2 separate regions of the Homo sapiens genome follow, and region 1 is linked to region 2. The links are contacts of gene promoters, found by promoter capture Hi-C in human tissues and cell types (Jung and others, 2019). All regions are on one chromosome and are shown on one strand. Each heading gives the region's core, a stretch centred on a gene start or on the middle of the fragment in contact. The rest is flanking DNA. Distances are from core to core; before and after follow the strand shown.

Region 1 (3,736 bases), core at 603-3,102, 160 kb after region 2:
GAACGTCTGCTGGTGATGAATTTTCATAGTTTCTTTTACTGAAATGCCTTTATTTTTTAAGGATTTCTTCTGGCTATAGAATTCTGGGTTGGCAGTTTTTTGGAGATATATGAATATATGTGTGTGTATATGCACACACACAAAGAATACACACACATATATATACTCATAAAGAGATATATATTGTTTCATATATGTATATATAAATCACCGACTTCTGGTCTTCAAGTCTCCATAGTTTACAAGAAGAAGTCATTTGAATTGTTTTTTCTCTTATGTAATGTGTCCTTTTTCTCTGGGTGCTTTCCAGATTTTCTTATTACTTTTGGTTTTCAGCTGTTTGAGTATGAGGTGCCTAGGTATGGTTTTCTTTGTGTTAATTCTGCTTGGGGTACTCTGAGCCTCTGAAATTTGCACACATGTGCCTTTCACCAAATTCCAGAAATTCTTGGCCATTATATCTTCAAATATTTTTTCTGCATTTACTCTACTCATACGTTAAATCTTTTGGTACTGTCCCACAGGTCACTGTCTTTGTTATTTATCTTCAGTATTTTTTTTCTGTTCTTCAGCTTGGACAACTTCTGTTACTCTGTTTTCAAATTCACTTATTCTTTTTCTCTGTCATTTCAGTTCTGCTGCTAAGCCTATCTATCAAATTGTTTAATTTCAGATATTACATTTTTCAGTTCTAGAATTTTCCTTTAGTACTTTTATAGTTCCTATTTCTTTACTAAGATTGCCTATTTCTTCATTGCATGCATCTTTTCACAAGGCTTTTCAGTCCTGTTAAAATCCTCTATATATTGATTCATGCTAGAAAAATATATAAAATCATTATTATGAACTTATACAGTGAAAAGTTTTCATTTCAATGAATGTTCCTATTATTTTCACTAGGTCACGAAAAAAAAGCTTTCCTTTCCTTGGAGTTTCAGATTTTGCTTATTCATATGCAATGTGATACTGGTGAGAAAAAAAATCACTGTCTTCTTTTTCCTTTATTATTAAATATTTGGAAAACTTTCTTTAAAGAAAATCTTGAACTGGAGTTCAAAGTACGAGAAATCTTTGTAAATGTCTTACACCATTAAACAGATGAGCATTGGGAAAGAACATAAGATTAATTGTTCTCTATTTCTTTTTTGTTTTGTTTTGTTATGTTTTTTTGAGACGGAGTCTCACTCTATCACCTAGGCTGGAGTGCAGTGGCGCGATCTCGGCTCACTGCAAGCTCCGCCTCCCAGGTTCATGCCATTCTCCTCAGCCTCCCGAGTAGCTGGGACTACAGGTGCCCACCACCACACCTGGCTAATTTTTTGTAGTTTTAGTAGAGACGGGGTTTCACCGTGTTAGCCAGGATGGGCTTGATCTGCTGACCTCATGATCGCCCCCCTCAGCCTCCCAAAATGCTGGGATTACAGGCGTCAGCCACCAAGCCTGACCTCTATTTCTTTTAACAGTTCCATGAAGTAGTCGTGATTCATAATATTTACATGTATATACTTCATAGGTATATTCTTTATACAGTAGAGCAAAGCAGTTAGGGAGACATCAGTCTCTTGCATTAAAATTCCAAGGAATTCAGATTTTTAACCTAATACAGCTGGTGTATCATCTATTGTGATAGAAATATTTTTTGATACCTAACAGAAATTTTTCTTTGACAGATATAAAAGACAAAAATATCTATGTCATGACTCTGGTTTTGTAGGCTGCGAATTGACAGCTTTTTTTATTTGGGGATCTTTTGAGACAAAATGTACCCACAGTATCAATTGGGCTAAATTATCTTATATTGCACAACTCATATATGGCTAAAGAAGAGTACTTGAAGCTTTTGCTAACTTTGAATTAATTGATCCATGATATTGTTAGAAATATCTTGTATTCTATGAGCAGTTTTTAGGTGACTTAATTTTTTTTTACTTTTTATAAGATCATTTTAGTCTTTCTCAGAATATGCTAACAAGATTTTTGCAACCAAACTAATAATTTATCTTATCTCTATATCCAACATTTCTTTTTTGTGCAAGAATCAGAGCCATTTTATAGCTCAAAAAGGTTATAAACTCAGATTCTGTTTAAAAATTGTTTAAATATTTTGGTTGGACATTTAATTCTAATTTCAGGCAACTAACTTCATCTATTCCATTTTGCTTCTCAAGAGAAAACGTCTCATCAAATTTACTATGTATTTGCTGAAAATGTTTCACAATATTTTTCTCTTTAACAATTTAATTTGTTATGTAATAAACAGCTTTTTTTTTTTGCTCTCTCACAGCAAATTGCAATTGACATTCATCATGAAATTCATAGTATATTATCTTCCAGGCTCATTTTTTACAATTCTGACCATAGTACTGGTCTCCACTCAATTCTGTGTAATATGCCTTCATTTATTTTAAATTTTAAATTTTGTCCATACTTACTTTTCAACCTAGAATAATAATTTAATTATAAAGTACTAAGTATTTCCATTTAATTACTAATAATTATTTCCTTAGTATCACTGTAACTCTTCTTCTTTTTGAAGTATTCAAATAAATACATCAAGGCAGGGCACAATGGCTCACACCTGTAATCTCAGCATTTGGAAGGCTGAGGCAGGCGGATCACTTGAGGCCAGGAGTTCTTGGCCCGGCCAACATGGCAAAACCCCGACGTTACTAGAAATACAAAAATTAGCCTGGTGCAGTGATGCATGCCTGTAATCCCAGCTCCTCAGGAGGCCGAAGCACAAGAATTGCTTGAACTTGGGAGGCGGAGGTTGCAGTGAGCCGAAATGGTGCCACTGCCCTCCAACCTGGGCAACAGAGTGAGCTCTTGTCAAAAACAAAAAATAAAACAAAAAAAAAAACCCAGAGCTAATACTTTCCATGAATGTTTCCACGTAAGGACTCATCCCCAACTCATCAAAAATTCAGAGTATCTGCAACAGGAAGACACTTACAGAACATTTCCATCATTCCTAAAAGTTCTCTCTTGCTTCTTATCTTTCATTCTCCTAAGGCTACTGTTGTTCTGATTTCTATTACAATTAATGTGTTTTACCTTATCTTGATCTTCATGTAAATGGAATCATACATTATGAATACTACTATTCCTTAATTCTTTCATTCAATAGAAAAATTTGAGATTCTGCTATGTTATTCCTTAGATTAGTAGTTTATAGCTTTTTACTATTTAGTAATATTCAAGGTATGAATATACCATAGTTTATTCATCTGTTCTTCTATTGATGGATTTTTGAATAGTTTGCAGGAATTTTTTTATTATAAAATCTCTCCAAATAGATTTTTTAAGATAAAAAATTATTTCCCTCATTGATTTGCATAGGTGACTCTTATAAATCAATTGGTTGTATATATTTGGAATTATTTCTGGAGCCTGTCTTCTGTTACACTGATATATTTAACTTTCCTTATACAAATACTACACTCTATGAAATAGCTTTATATTAAGCTTTGAAACAAGGTAAGCTAAATATCCCAAAGTTTTGAAGATGGCCGAATAGGAACAGCTCCGGTCTACCGCTCCCAGCGTGAGCGTCGCAGAAGACGGTGATTTCTGCATTTCCATCTGAGGTACCGGGTTCATCCCACTAGGGAGTGCCAGACAGTGGGCGCAGGTCAGTGGGTGCGCGCACCGTGCGGGAGCAGAAGCAGGGCGAGGCAATGCCTCACTTGGGAAGTGCAAGGGGTCAGGGAGTTCCCTTTCCAAGTCAAAGAACGGA
Region 2 (3,659 bases), core at 923-3,422:
TGGGCATGGACAGAAGTAACAGGAATCACATGCAGGGACACACAATTGCTTGGTTCTTACCCAAATTCCCTTCTCTTTGGCTTGTTGTCCCCATCACCCAAAACTTTTCTTCCCTTAGGAAGTGGAAAGTATCTCCATGGAATGGTTGATGCCCTGTGAACAGGCAAAGTCACATGCTTAATCCCAACATGTTCAAGGTAATATCATGTTGGTGCAAACGTAATTGCAGTGTACCATTACTTCCAATGACAAAAACCACAATTACTTTTGCACCAACCTAATAGCCAGGCAAAATTTACTGGAAATGTAGGTTCTCACTGCACACTCAAACTTGAAAACCCTAGGATTAAAAAACCACTCCTGGGGCCTGACATTCCATTACAGGGGGTGCCCGTCCTCACCCACTGAGAGCAGGTTCCTGAAGTTCTCAAGCATCACATCTCGGTACAGCTTCCTCTGGGCAGGGTCCAGCAGCCCCAGCTCCTCCTCAGTGAAGATCACAGCCACATCCTTGAAGGTCACTGCCTCCTACAACATCAAGCAGATGTCACCTCAATCTTACGGCCAAAGACTATTGGGAGACAGCAGCATTGCACTGGCACAAGGGACAAGTGTAAAGTTGTTTTGGATCTTGAGAGACATAGGTCAGCTTATAGATTTCCTACTTATTCTGTTTGTGTCCTGACAATGACTGATTAGGCAATAGGGGTTTGGAATGGAGACTGCACACACCAGTCAACAGGGTGTGTCCTGAATAAATAGTGGGTAAAGGACATTTACTGAGATGCTATCTCTAACTCCACTTCAGGAAAGCTTGCTGCAGAGTTAGAGTGATATAGTCCAAATGCTCTGTTTGAGTCGCGGGCCCTTTGACGAAAATGAGACTGAGGCAGGAGAATCACTTGAACCCGAGAGGCGGAGGTTACAGTGAGCCAAGATTGCACCACTGCACTCCAGCCTAAGCAACAAGAGCGAAACTCTGTAAAAAAAAAAATATATATATATATAGAGAGAGAGAGAGAAAGAAAATAGTAGATAAGGTTAAAAAAATTAAAAAGCAAAAAGCAAACAAACAAAAACTCCTATAGAAGTCCAAGCCCCTGAGCCTTGCCTCAAGGTGCCTTCAATCAAGTCCTAACTTACGTTCTCCACCTGTTCCCAGCTAGTACCTCTGCCTCAATGAGAATTGCATTCAAGAGATGATCAACTCAGGCTCTAACCTGGACTGCCTAGGTTTCAACTCCTGCTCCACCTGTGTCTCACGCCCATCTTTAAAATGAAAAAAGCAGCACCTCTCCACAGTGCCACTGTGAAGATCATGTATTTTGGGGTATAAAGTACTTGGAATAAAGTTACCAATTAAGGCTTAATCATTATCGACACCCATGCCCGAGGGACAAATCCTACACACTCTCGGTTGAGGTAAGCATCTCTGTCAAAGAAAAAAAGCCAAGGATCACTCACGTAGAGCTTTGCCATCAGTAGCCAAGAAGTCCCTTCCTGCAGCTCTTTTAGAAAGGTCGGGCTGGGGAAAAAGAAAGCTGTGAAACACCCTGACCGTTTTGCCGTCCCCCATAAAAGTTAAATGCTCCCCTCACTTTCCTAAAAAGAGGTCAGAAGGCGTCAGGGATCATCCAGCGTCCTGCAGGGATCAGGCAGAAGGGCCGGCGCCCCTGCAGCTGGAGCTCTGACCCCACCAGAGGACCTGACAGGCTTCGTGGGAAATTAACAAGAGACCACCAGACACCGAGTGACAGGGACTGCTTTTAAGGCTCTCATTTGTGTTACCTCTTTCAGGTCCCAAAATGAATCCATTAGGATGGTCCGAAAAGTCCCGTTACAAAACAAACAAACAAACGAACCAGCAATGGAAGATAAACGGACATTAAGTGACACTCCACACCACACTGAAAGGGGCTGCACACGTAGGGAGGAGGGAGGCGGACTAAGCGAGGTCAAAGTAGGGCACACCGGGCCGCGCCAATCCCACTCCCTGAGACCCTAGCAGAGCCCCCCGACGCCAGAAGGCTCAGCTGACTGGAACGGCAATCCCCGCCCGCGCCCCTCCAAACCTCTGCTCTCCGCCCAGGCTTCTTTTCTCCTGAATCGATCATTGGGTGGTTGCGAGCCCCAAGGAAAGGAGACTCGTTCGGAAGGACTCGCAAGATGTGGAAATGACTCAAACTACTGTGGTAAATGAAATAGCAACGTCACAGTTGGGGACCGGAAGTGCTCGAGCCTCCACAGAGCGTGTGGACTCCACTTCCCAGAATTCCCCGGACTCGCCCGTGTGAGACAAAGGGCCCGCGACTCAAACAGAGCATTTGGACTATATCACTCTAACTCTGCAGCAAGCTTTCCTGAAGTGGAGTTGGAGATAGCATTTCAGTAAATGTCCTTTACCCACTGCTTATTCGGGACACACCCTGTTGACTGGTGCGTGCAGTCTCCATTCCAAACCACTATTGCCATTCCTATCGCTTCCATAAAGCCTAAGAAATCAAATATTTTCTTTCTCTGCCTTCATCTAGCTAGAAATTTTCATGGGACACAATTTTGGGAAGTGAGACATTAGGAGAAGTGAGCTGTCCTCTCCTGACAAGAAATGTGCTTGGCAGGCTGTGAGTACACGAGGAGTTGAAAGAGTAAAAAGGTGATCGTCTCAGTGGACTGTAGGTATTGGCGAGGTTCTAATATTACTGATGCTAGCATGCTGGTGGGACCAAGGTGGAAATACAAGTCAAAGTTGTTGGAGAGTAGTGCTGCAAATTATTATGGAGGAATATTTGCTAGAAAATGACGAGGTCTAAAATATGACCATGGGAGAGAGTGTCCCTTGATATTTCACATGAATCTCAGGTGGATTTTTTCATTTCTGAGAAAAATGTTACTGTGATTAAGGATTGCATTGAATCTATAGATATAGGTATTGACAGCCTTGCAATATCAAGTCGCCCAATCCATTAATAATGGATATATCTCCATTTATTTGCGCCTTCTTTAATTTTTTTTTTTTTTTTTTTGAGACAGAGTCTCACTCTGTCGCCCAAGCTGGAGTGCAGTGGCACAATCTTGGCTCACTGCAACCTCCGCCTCCTGAGTTCAAGCGATTCTCCTGCCTCAGCCTCCCAAGTAGCTGGGATTACAGGCACGTACCACCATACCTGGCCAATTTTTGTATTTTTAGTGAAGACAGGGGTTTCACCAGGTTGGCCAGGCTGATCTCGAACTCCTGGCCTCAAGTTATTCGCCTGCCTGGGCCTCACAAAGTGCTGGGATTACAGGCATAAGCCACCATGCCTGGGGTGCCTTCTTTAATTTTCTTTAGTAAGATGTTGCAAAATTCAGTGTCCAAGTGTTTCTTGTCATTGGTTAAGACAGTTCCTAAGTAATTTATTTATTTAATGCTATTGCAAAGGGAACTATTTTCCTTTTCAGATTAATTGTTTTTGTATAGAAATACAACTGCTTCTTCTATGTAGATATTTTTCCTGCAACTTTCTGACTTTACTAGCTCTAAGAGTTTTTTTTTCTTGTGAATTCTTTAGAATTTTTATATATAAGAACATGTCATTAGCATATAGACAATTTTACCTCTGTTTCCAATTTTAATAGCTTTATTTTCTTTTTCTATCTAATTGTTCTGCATAGAACTTCCA

The links. Contacts are between HindIII fragments. The study calls those that stand out against the background at their distance.
Region 1: a fragment that was not itself captured here is called in contact with the fragment with the promoter of ZNF222 in region 2 in 3 of the 25 tissues and cell types used here (adrenal gland, dorsolateral prefrontal cortex and pancreas).

Annotation. Positions count from the first base shown.
Region 1 is chr19:43,867,067-43,870,802 of GRCh38, reverse strand. No RefSeq gene overlaps it. Among named protein-coding and RNA genes, the nearest start is that of ZNF404, 15 kb to the left of the region's middle. The HindIII fragment of the contact is 5,020 bases long and covers 1-3,736 here.
Region 2 is chr19:44,023,892-44,027,550 of GRCh38, reverse strand. It overlaps ZNF222 (zinc finger protein 222), which reads right to left and starts at 2,172. Exons shown (of 4, transcript NM_001129996.2): 1 at 2,073-2,172; 2 at 402-528; 3 at 61-153. The coding sequence starts at 2,114. It overlaps ZNF222-DT (ZNF222 divergent transcript), which reads left to right and starts at 2,269. Exons shown (of 3, transcript NR_184028.1): 1 at 2,269-2,436; 2 at 2,532-2,653; 3 at 3,652-3,659. RefSeq lists enhancers at 1,877-1,926, 2,157-2,206. The HindIII fragment of the contact is 3,057 bases long and covers 1-3,041 here.